2 separate regions of the Homo sapiens genome follow, and region 2 is linked to region 1. The links are contacts of gene promoters, found by promoter capture Hi-C in human tissues and cell types (Jung and others, 2019). All regions are on one chromosome and are shown on one strand. Each heading gives the region's core, a stretch centred on a gene start or on the middle of the fragment in contact. The rest is flanking DNA. Distances are from core to core; before and after follow the strand shown.

Region 1 (5,085 bases), core at 657-3,156:
CAAAGTGTTTTCAGAAAGTTTAAGAATTTGTGTTGGGCTGCATTTAAAGCCACCCTGGGCCGCGGGTTGGACAAGCTCGTCTTAGGAGATTTCCCTAGTGCTTAGTTTTCTTACTATTTCACCAAGTGTTTAGTACCCTCTAGGAAATAAAATGCACTACCACTTTCCTGATTCAGTCTACTCACTCCAAGCTACATTGTCTGATGAGAAACTGACTCCCATTTGCGCCATGCCAGCCCTTTAAGTGAATGAGGCTTCCAGGCAAGCTTTCCACCTCAAAGGGACACCACTGCCCCATACCTTCTTCCTTTCACCATCCACCTGGCAGTCTTCCCACAGGAAGGGAGCCGTCCTTAGAGGCCACATGCAGACAAATATCAGTCTCTAAACCAAAGAGGCTTGGAGGAAAAAAGACAGAGAGCACACATGTCATGAATAATTCAGTTGGCTGCCCGGCCCAAACCAAGCTCCCCTGGAGGCAGTATGGAGACACAAATCTGCCCACCTTATGAAGCTTACAGCAGTTGCCAGTTAGGTCTGGGTAGCAGCTTGACCCTCCTGTGAGCGCCCAATAATAAATGCCCACACTGGCGTGGAGGGCTGTGGTGTGCAGCAGGTACACAAGAAATGAATGAGAACTGCAAGGCCAGAACGACTTCATGGGAGGGAAAGGGTCTTTGATTAAGGCAACTGCTCAACTCCAATGTACATTTGCTTTGCTGTCTCTGGGGCTGAAAGCAGGGTAGAGAGGTGGAGAGTGGGACATTTACTTTGGCCCAACCATCTGCTAGGTGTTCCACATGTGTGGAGCCAAGACACAGACACCCTAGCAACATTTTGGTGAGGCAGGTACTACGATTCTCATTCCTTTGCTTTACTCTCTCTCAAGGAAATTAGGCTGACAGACAGTTTGGAAGATTTGCCAGCAATCTTAACAGCTAGGAAGTGGCAGGGGCAGGCTCACCTCCAGCCCTAGCTGGCTCCAAAGCTGGGGCTCGTTCTTTTATGTCCCTAATTCCCTTCTTACTTTCCATGCTTTCTGTGCACTGTGTCTAGCAGGATAAGGTGGCCAGGTAAGCAGCCAGGGGGTGAGGAACTGGGAAGAGGCTGCACAGTACACCCTGTTTCTTCCAGAGGATGAATTCTGTACCCCACTCCAAGCTGTCAACATAGACAGGTGTTCAAGGGTGGAATGTGGCCCAGCTAATCCCTGCCTGACTTTAATTTCCCATGTGTGGAATATGGACTCCAGGGAGGCAGAATCCAGGAGGCAGAAGCTCAGGCCTTGATGCCTACTCAGATCTCTAGATGCCAAACTCTACTAACTGGGGTACTGACCAGTAAGCCTTGGGGATGTGAGATCTGAACCTGATCTTTATGGTGGCCTCAGTCTACACTGTCACCCTTGAAACCTGTGTCTGTCTTACAGCACGGATCCCATTCTGCTGGTATTGGAAAGACTGATAGTGAAAAGAACTCGAGATTAGAGTCAAGAGAGTCTAGGACCAAAGTCCATCTCGTTCTCATTCTCCTTCAATCACTCGGTTTTGATGGAAATCAACTCTGCCAACATAATTGCTATTTCAAAGAAATATTCATTCATACACTCAATAATTTTTTAGCAATCCAAGATGTATTGAGCACTTACTATGTGCCAGGCACAGTATTGAGAACCACAAACCCATAAGATGCTCAATAATATTATTTGAATGAATACAGTGCAAATCATGTTGTAGTAAGTATATATTCACAAGCTTTGGCCAGGAAGAGCAAAATAAGTAGTTTACATTTGAACAATACTTTTCACAAGGCTACAGAGTACACTCACATTCATTGTAATAATTGATGGATTATCCTCAGCTCAAACCGAGAGCATGGCCACTCTAGAAATACTTGGGGAGCTATAAGAGGAAGAGGAGGAGGTGACAAATAGTATTTGATGCAGTTGAGAGGTCAGCCTCAGAGTTAGCCAAGTGAGACAAGAGAGGACAAGGAAGAGAAAGAGAAGTAACTTTTGAACACCTGCTATGAGTATCTCATTTAACGCTGAATGATCCTATGAAGGGAGGTAGGTATTTTCACTCCTTTTTTATAGACAAAGGAAGGCAAGCTCATAGAGGGTAGCTATCTTGGATAAAGTTACACAGTCAAAAATGGCAAAATATCTGACTCCAAATTGAACGTTTTTTAATCCCTATGCCATTCTGAACCTTTCCCAAAAGAGGAAGATGAGGAGGAGAGGCTGTGTCAGTGAGATAAGGTGAGATTTGGTGCGATAAAAGAAAAAGAATAGATACAGGACCACGCAAACAAACACAAAAAGCCCAGTGACATTTCACTGATGATAGCAATGATTACTGTTACGTTGGTTGACAGCATGCATCATCGGCAGTTCAAGCCCTAGTTCCTGGAACTTCATAGATATATTTTGAAAGGACTTTCAGCAGGAAGCCCAAACTTCCAAAAGAGGAAGACTGACTACCATACCAGGCAGTCATTTTTATCTCTACTTTATAGACAAGGAAACTGAGCTTCTACGAGGTTAATCAATTTGCTTTAAGTCACCCATATCGGAAATGGCAGAGCAGGGATTTGAACCCAGGGCTTTCTGACCTTCAAATTTATATTGCTTTTTATGGCCCTATCTTAAAGATGACCAAGGATGGGTGAAGGAACTCTTAGAATCTCAGAATTTGGAAAAGATAATAAACTTTCTCTAATCAGGCAGTTCTCACACTTAGGTGATTGGACCCATGCTCAACCAGTGACATGGAAACCTTATTAAAGGGAAACGGGCTTCATCCCTGATCAGGGAACCTGCCTTCTCCTCTGTGGTCCTGGTGGCAGGAGAGGTACCCAGGAAGGGGAGGGTTTCAGGTGAAGGGGAGAGCAAGGTGGTGCTCACAGTCTGAGTCAGGCGGACCTCCTGGCTCTTGCCTTCTAGCTCAAGACCTTTGACAAACTTCCATGTTTCCTGAATCTCAGTTTTCTCACCTGTAGAATATTTTATAGGCAGCACTTAGAGATATTAATTGAGTATGTGTTTAGGGTCAAAATGACCTGGATTAGAGTAACAGCTCTGCTTATGACCTTCGATGAATTAAAACCTCTGGACATTTGGGGTCCTCATCTCTAAAATGAGCATAATAAAATCTACTTCATGACTTGTTACAATGAAGTGAGACAGTATATATGGAACCCCTCAGTATAGAACCTGACCCCTAGTAAATACTCCACAAATGTTAGCTATTCTTACTCTGGGCAGCGGAGCAAAGTGCTTAAGAGCTCGGGCTCTGGAGTGATCCTTCCTCAATTCACTGACTCCATCATTTACTGCCTTGGGGCCATGAACAAATTCCTTAAACCCTCTATGACTTGTTTCACTCATTCTGAGAAATGGGGATAATCGTATTATAGTATCTACCCTAGAGGGTTATTATGAAGATTAAATAAGATAGGCATGGAAGATGCCTAGCATAGTGTCTGGCAGGTGGTGAGTGTTCCTTAAAGGGTACCCATTATTAGCTCCATATGGGATCAAACTTGCCAAGAATTGGACAACAGCAGTCAGGTCTGCACAGTGAGAGAGTGAGCTCCCCGTCTGTGGCTGTGCTGGGCCAGAGGCTAAAAGACCATCTGTTAAGGGTGGGTGGAAGGGATTCCCATATGAGGTCAATGGTGGGCTTTGCCGACCTCTAAGACTCTAACTGTCTTTTCCGTGCTGTGACTCTCAGTGTGAATTAGTAGAGAAGACACTGACTCATCAGTGCAGCAAATCAAAAGTGGAAAAATTACTTTCTAGCTTAGTTTTAAAAATCAAAGCCCCTTTCCAGCCAAAGGCAATTACAGACTGATCCACAGTAAGGCAAGGCATATTTCAATTGAAAAATGGCATCTTCCTAGTCATTGCCATATGGAGCCAGGACACCAGGTGGCCCAGGGCTGAGACCAATCACAGGGTCCAATTGGAACTAAATAAAATGACCCCCTGGAGGAAATGGCTCCAGCGAGGCCCACAAATCCCCATGACATGTCATTTTGGCATGTGGCATGTCCCACATCAGCCTGGGCCTATGCTCTGCCTGATGCCCGAGGCCCTGTCCCTTCTCTCAAGTGGGTCAAAAAGATAAGGGGCCTCAGCTGTGAGTACATCCCCTGTGTGGGAGGAGGAGACCACAGGCACAGTGGAGGAGTCCTGGCCTCAGCCTGCTCCTGTAGAAGGCCCCAGAGACAGCCAGAGTCACATGGGTTGTCATTTGCCAACCATCGGCTGGCAGTTCCCAAAGATGGGCCACATGGCCCAACGCCTTCATCTATATTAAAACTCTCACTTCCTAAATTTCGCTCCATCCCAGGACAATCATTTCAACACAGCCATTCTGTCTCTCCTTTCCTGTCTTCTAGAACAATTTGTCTTCTCCCTGCCATGGGAAAGCAGGTCACATTTTTGGTAGAAAGGGTGGGATAGTAGATGCCGGAAGATGGAGCCATGTGCTGTTGCTATGATTCCCTTGCCACCACCCCAAATCCAGAGCAATGGTCAACTCATCTGCCTCCACTTCTGGTTCCAGTAGCAGTGAATGCAAGAACCAATTACATGTATAACTTCCTCTAGGTAGCATCTCTCCTCCTCATAATAATATAGTTTAGCATTTAACAAAGTCTAATGTGTTTTATGCAAACATTTAAAAAGACAAATACTTGAGAAGTACCAAGTTAAGCAACATTAACAGGATTCTTTCCTGCAGGATTTCTCAGAATTGTTTTCTTTTCTTTTCTCTTGTATTCTCTTCTCTTGTCTTGTCTTCTCTTCCCTTCCCTCCTTTTCCCTTCTCTTCTTTTCTTGTCTTTCTTTTAAGAAACAGGGTTTTGCTCTGCAACCCTGGCTGGAGTGCAGAGGCACAATCACAGCTCATTTCAACCTTGCCTCCCACCTTGTGATCCTTCCACCTTGGCCTCCCAAAGAGCTGTAATTACAGTCATGAACCACCACGCCTGGCCAGAGCTTTTAAAAAATAAACTAAAGTGCATTGGGAATCTCCAAGAAAGGGATTGGGTCAGGGGGAGCAGCTACAGCATTTTCCA
Region 2 (5,085 bases), core at 1,183-3,682, 340 kb after region 1:
TGTCCCTATAAAGGACATGAACTCATCATTTTTTATGGCTGCATAGTATTCCATGGTGTATATGTGCCACATTTTCTTAATCCAGTCTATCATTGTTGGGCATTTGGGTTGGTTCCAAGTCTTTGCTATTGTGAATAGTGCCACAGTAAACATAAGTGTGCATGTGTCTTTATAGCAGCATGATTTATAATCCTTTGGGTATATACCCAGTAATGGGATGGCTGGGTCAAATGGTATTTCTAGTTCTAGATCCCTGAGGAATCACCACACTGACTTCCACAATGGTTGAACTAGTTTACAGTCCCACCAACAGTGTAAAAGTGTTCCTATTTCTCCACATCCTCTCCAGCAACTGTTTCCTGACTTTTTAATGATCGCCATTCTAACTGGTGTGAGATGGTATCTCATCGTGGTTTTGATTTGCATTTCTCAGACCTAAAACCATAAAAACCCTAGAAGAAAACCTAGGCAATACCATTCAGGACATAGGCATGGGCAAGGACTTCATGTCTAAAACACCAAAAGCAATGGCAACAAAACCAAAATTGACAAATGGGATCTAATTAAACTAAAGAGCTTCTGCACAGCAAAAGAAACTACCATCAGAGTGAACAGGCAACCTACAAAAATGGGAGAAAATTTTTGCAATCTACTCATCTGACAAAGGGCTAATATCCAGAATCTACAATGAACTCAAACAAATTTACAAGAAAAAAAAACAGACAACCCCATCAACAAGTGGGCGAAGGATAGGAACAGACACTTCTCAAAAGAAGACATTTATGCAGCCAAAAGACACATGAAAAAATGCTCATCATCACTGGAAGCTCCTCTTTTATCTGCTTTATATACTGATTTTCCTCTTATCTACAGAAAAAAGTATTCTGATGCAAACACACACACAAAAAAAATTTTAAAGCTACTATTGGTTGACCAGTTTCAGTGACTCAAGCCTGTAATCTCAGCACATTGAGAGGCCGAGGTGGGCAGATCACTTGACCCCAAAGTTTGAGACCAGCCTAGGCAAAATGGTGAAACCACATCCCTACAAAAAAATTAGCCAGGCGTGCTGGTGTGCGCCTATAGTCCCAGCTACTCAGGAGGCTGAGACAGGAGGATTGCTTGAGCCCAAAAGATCGAGGCTGCAGTGAGCTGTGATCATGCCACTGTACTCCAGCTTAGGCAACAGAACGGGACCATTTCTCTAAACAAACAAACAAACAAACAAACAAAAGCCACTATCCTAGACGATTTCTAAAGTCCTTTCTAGCTTTAACTTTCTAAAATCCTCGTGATTGCCTCGTCTTTATGATGAAGATGCCATTTAGTGAAAACACAGACCACGGATATCTCATAGGAGGCTATGCCACGGCCGTCTTTGTGAAATTACTGCAACCTTCTTGACAGTGAAATATTCTATCCTTCAACAATTGCTTTGTGGGCAGGTAACCAAAGGGCTAATATCTGATGTGAAGGCTGGATCATGAACCTCCCGGTTGGGTTCTACATGTACCTTACCTCAACATCCGGGTCAACATGAGTGGAAGGGGCTTGGTGCCTCAGTTTCCTCATCTATAACATGAAGAATTGGTCTTCACATCTCTGAACCTCTTGTCAGCTTTTCAATGCCATAATTTATATCAGTCCCTGGTGCTTGATCAAATTTAAACGGTGTGAATTCCAGACAAAGAAAAATTAGACCTCCAAAGAAAATATGGGTCTACAGAGACATATCAAGATGTTATAAATATAATGTGATGATGATAAATATGCACTGCTGTATCAAATTCTTAAATAGAAAAGGATAATAACAAAGTAAATCAAAACTTTTTAGAGAAAACTTCGTTTCCTAGGATAGATGGAGTGACAGGTCCCAAGTGATGTGCCAACCTTTTTTCTCCCAAGCTTCTTTGAAGAGATTATCTAAGTATCGTTTCAGACACCCATCACCCTTATTTTTAGCTCTGAGTTCTCTTCACGAGTGTGGTGACCTGTGGCTCTAAGTTCCAGAGGCTCCCAGATATGGCACATGACTCATTTGCAGGTACCCTGCAATGATTTCCAGGAAGGTCAGTGGGGTGGGGGCCTGGAGAAATGATTTTTGATGTTAAACCCTTAGCTCTTGTTCCTGTTCCAACCACTTGATCAGAAATGACACACTTCATAAATTGATCCCTTGGTGCCATAAGCAATTGGCAGTGCAAATAGAACCCAAGTGATTCGGTTCTCCAAGAGGCTCACAGCTGGCTGGGGGGTTGGGGGAGACAAAACTCAGGGCTTTGGTCACAGTCTATTTTCAGCCCCTGATAGCAGTTGTGTTACTCACGTCTCATTCACCCTCTCCCTTGGCCTCCCTCCTGCCCTTCCCCCAGCAGGCCAAGGCTGGTGACAGCCTTCATATATTTAAAGAGGACAAGAGCCCCTCAGACTCAGTTGAGCTGAACGGAGTCCACACAGGCAGGTGAGTGGAGCAAGGCAGACATTTGAGCTGGAGGTGGGTTGGTTCTGTGGCTGGTTTGGACTATAAAGGGTCCCATAGAGTAAGAGCACATTTTACGTCTCAAGTGCCAGCACCCTCTCTGGTTCTGTGCAAGGAGGCTCAAGTTGTACTTGACTCTGGTGTGGATCTAGCAGGTATTAAAAAATTCCTGCAAGGATGGTTAATATTTAGGGGGCTTAAGGGACCTCATAGGCAGATAAATGAGTAAAGAATTATCCTCATTATAAAACTACTTACGTGGTGGAATTACATTTCCTGTCATCTTAGTTGGAACAACTGGAAAGCGGGAGGAAATAATGGAAAGTCTGCTGACCTTCTCGTCTTACAACCACCATATAATTCATGGATGACAGACTTTGAGAAGGTTCCTGCCCTCAGGGGCTTGGTCTCCTCTTCTGCAAGGATCAATACAAATTGGCGACATTTTTTCCAAACTGTAAAGTACTGCACAGATACAAAGCGATAAGCGATTGTACTAGATGCAATATATAAGACAGCTTTCCCATGCTCAATTTACCTGGAATGGTGTTATTCAAAAGGTCGTGGTGAATGACTGAGATTTTGGGCTTGTTGATTTTAAATAGACTTTTGTATCCCAAAGATATTCAGCAACAAGTTTGCTTTTAATCTTTTGAAATTAATCAAAACTGGACCCCAAAAAGACATTGCTATGTTGAAATATATTAAAAGCTCTATTAAATGGGAGGATAATTTATCCAGTGGTTAGGATTCCCACTGTTTCCTCTAGGTTTTAGTCAAGGACTTTTTAAAATATCCCAGTGAATGACAGACATAGGTGTGATTGAGAATAAGAAGAGGTTTTAAGCAATGGTCTGAGTGGAAATGCTGCTGAAAGATCCAAGCTGCCGACTCTAATTTCTGCCCTGTTCCTGAGCCAAGGTGGTGACTCCTCCAAGAAGGAGGAGTTGAGTTACTGGTCTGAGGAACCTTGTCTCTGCAATACGATTCAATGTAATTTAATAAGCATGTATGGACCATCTCCTATGTCAGGGCTGGAGGGAGGTAGAGGCAGCTCTATGCAGGGAAGGGTATAAGTGAACAGCACGAAGAGTGGGAAATTGGGGATGGCCTGTGTCCTCAGTTTACATCTGGGATTAAATCTCAATGCTGGGTACATACAATTCATCACAATGCATGTAGAACTGCTTTATGATCCAGAAAATGTGAGGGAGTCTTATGACTTGGCTTTGTTCCCTTTCTGAACAACTCAGTCGTTTGTGGTCAGTGGCAATGAGCCCAGGCTATTGGGCAGGAGGTGTAGCTGAGCCCCAGGGCTTTGTGTCCTCCCTGGGGTTCAGGCAGACAGGTGCTCTGCAGCCCAGACACACGTGTCATCCATCAGAAACAGGAGACACAGGGCAAGGGGCCTCCTCCTTCGAAGGAGAGAAGGGGGGAAGGAAAGAGAGAAGGAGGGAGGGAGGAAGGGAGGAAGAGAGGAATGAAGGAAGAGGGAGCTGCAGCAGCATTCAGCCAGCAAATAGCCAAAATTCCCTTGGAGGAAGTGGAGACAGAATCTTGATAGAATAGAAACTCAGAAATCCTGGGATATTCAAGAAGAAAATAAAGATAATCAGTTATAGAGCCCGTTCAAATTATAGCTCTGAATATCACTTAACTTATCTGAGTTTCCATTTTCTGAACAATAAAACTAAGGGTAGCCTACCTCTATCAAAGGGACTTGTGAGAATTGAATGAGATAAAGTATAGGAAAGTACTTTTGTAAAGTTTAATATAACCGTACAAATATGTGAGAACGTTGAGAAAAGGCATACAGCCAAACCCAGTGGGTTTTGGGGGGGTTTCCTGCTAAGTACAAGCGTGCTGATAAAAGTCCAGAGGTCAGAGTGGGTAAGAAGCTGACCAGGAGTTAGAAGATAATTAATTTGTTTTACAAGAGGAAAGACCCAGGGCTAGGAATATAACACACAGGAAATACAAGTCTTGAGGCAGACAGATTTCCAGTTACAAGTGTGCTGTTCAGATATCTGTGAATAAATACTGTATAGAGGGTTGGGCTTCATGCACAAAGAGAAATGTGATGCCTGCAAATGTGAAAAACTGCAGTTATTCATCCCAGTGAAGAATGGCAGGAAGGGAGACAGTAATGGTCTTAAAGGGCATTGAGGATGGAGCCTTTTCTGAGCTTTACTGTGGGAAAGGGTTGATCATGATTTGATGGTCGTTTATGGCCTAGGCAGGCATGGAACGAGTACTAGCTTATTTAAGGGTCACAAAAAGTTATGCAAAACTCATTTTTCAGAGGAAGAAACTAAAGTTCTAGAAAGCTTAGGAATTGCCCAGCATCACATGGCTGAGAAAGCGGCAGAGCCAGGAGGTAAACTGGGATATGATGTGGTCTTTAGAAATAAATTGTAGAGGTCAAAATAGAACAAAGAGTGAGTTTTGGGAAGTAAAAGCTGGCCACGCTTCAGATATAATTTCACAAAAGGTGTAAGATGCCCATGTTCTACAGCCTTCATTTAATGTATGTCTACCATGTCTGAGTTTAAAAGGGGCTGAGAGCCAACACTCAGGTTTATTTCCATGCTGGCAATGAGCAACCT

Evidence for each region. Contacts are between HindIII fragments. The study calls those that stand out against the background at their distance.
Region 2: a contact is called between the fragment with the promoter of CSRP3 here and a fragment that was not itself captured in region 1, in 1 of the 25 tissues and cell types used here (IMR-90 fibroblasts).

What each region holds. Positions count from the first base shown.
Region 1 is chr11:19,540,665-19,545,749 of GRCh38, reverse strand. It overlaps a transcript of NAV2 not described here. Among named protein-coding and RNA genes, the nearest start is that of NAV2-AS4, 19 kb to the right of the region's middle. The HindIII fragment of the contact is 3,031 bases long and covers 391-3,421 here.
Region 2 is chr11:19,199,330-19,204,414 of GRCh38, reverse strand. CSRP3 (cysteine and glycine rich protein 3) reads left to right here and starts at 2,432. Exons shown (of 6, transcript NM_003476.5): 1 at 2,432-2,461. The region is part of intron 1 of CSRP3-AS1 (CSRP3 and E2F8 antisense RNA 1); the gene reads right to left. The HindIII fragment of the contact is 17,209 bases long and covers 1-3,356 here.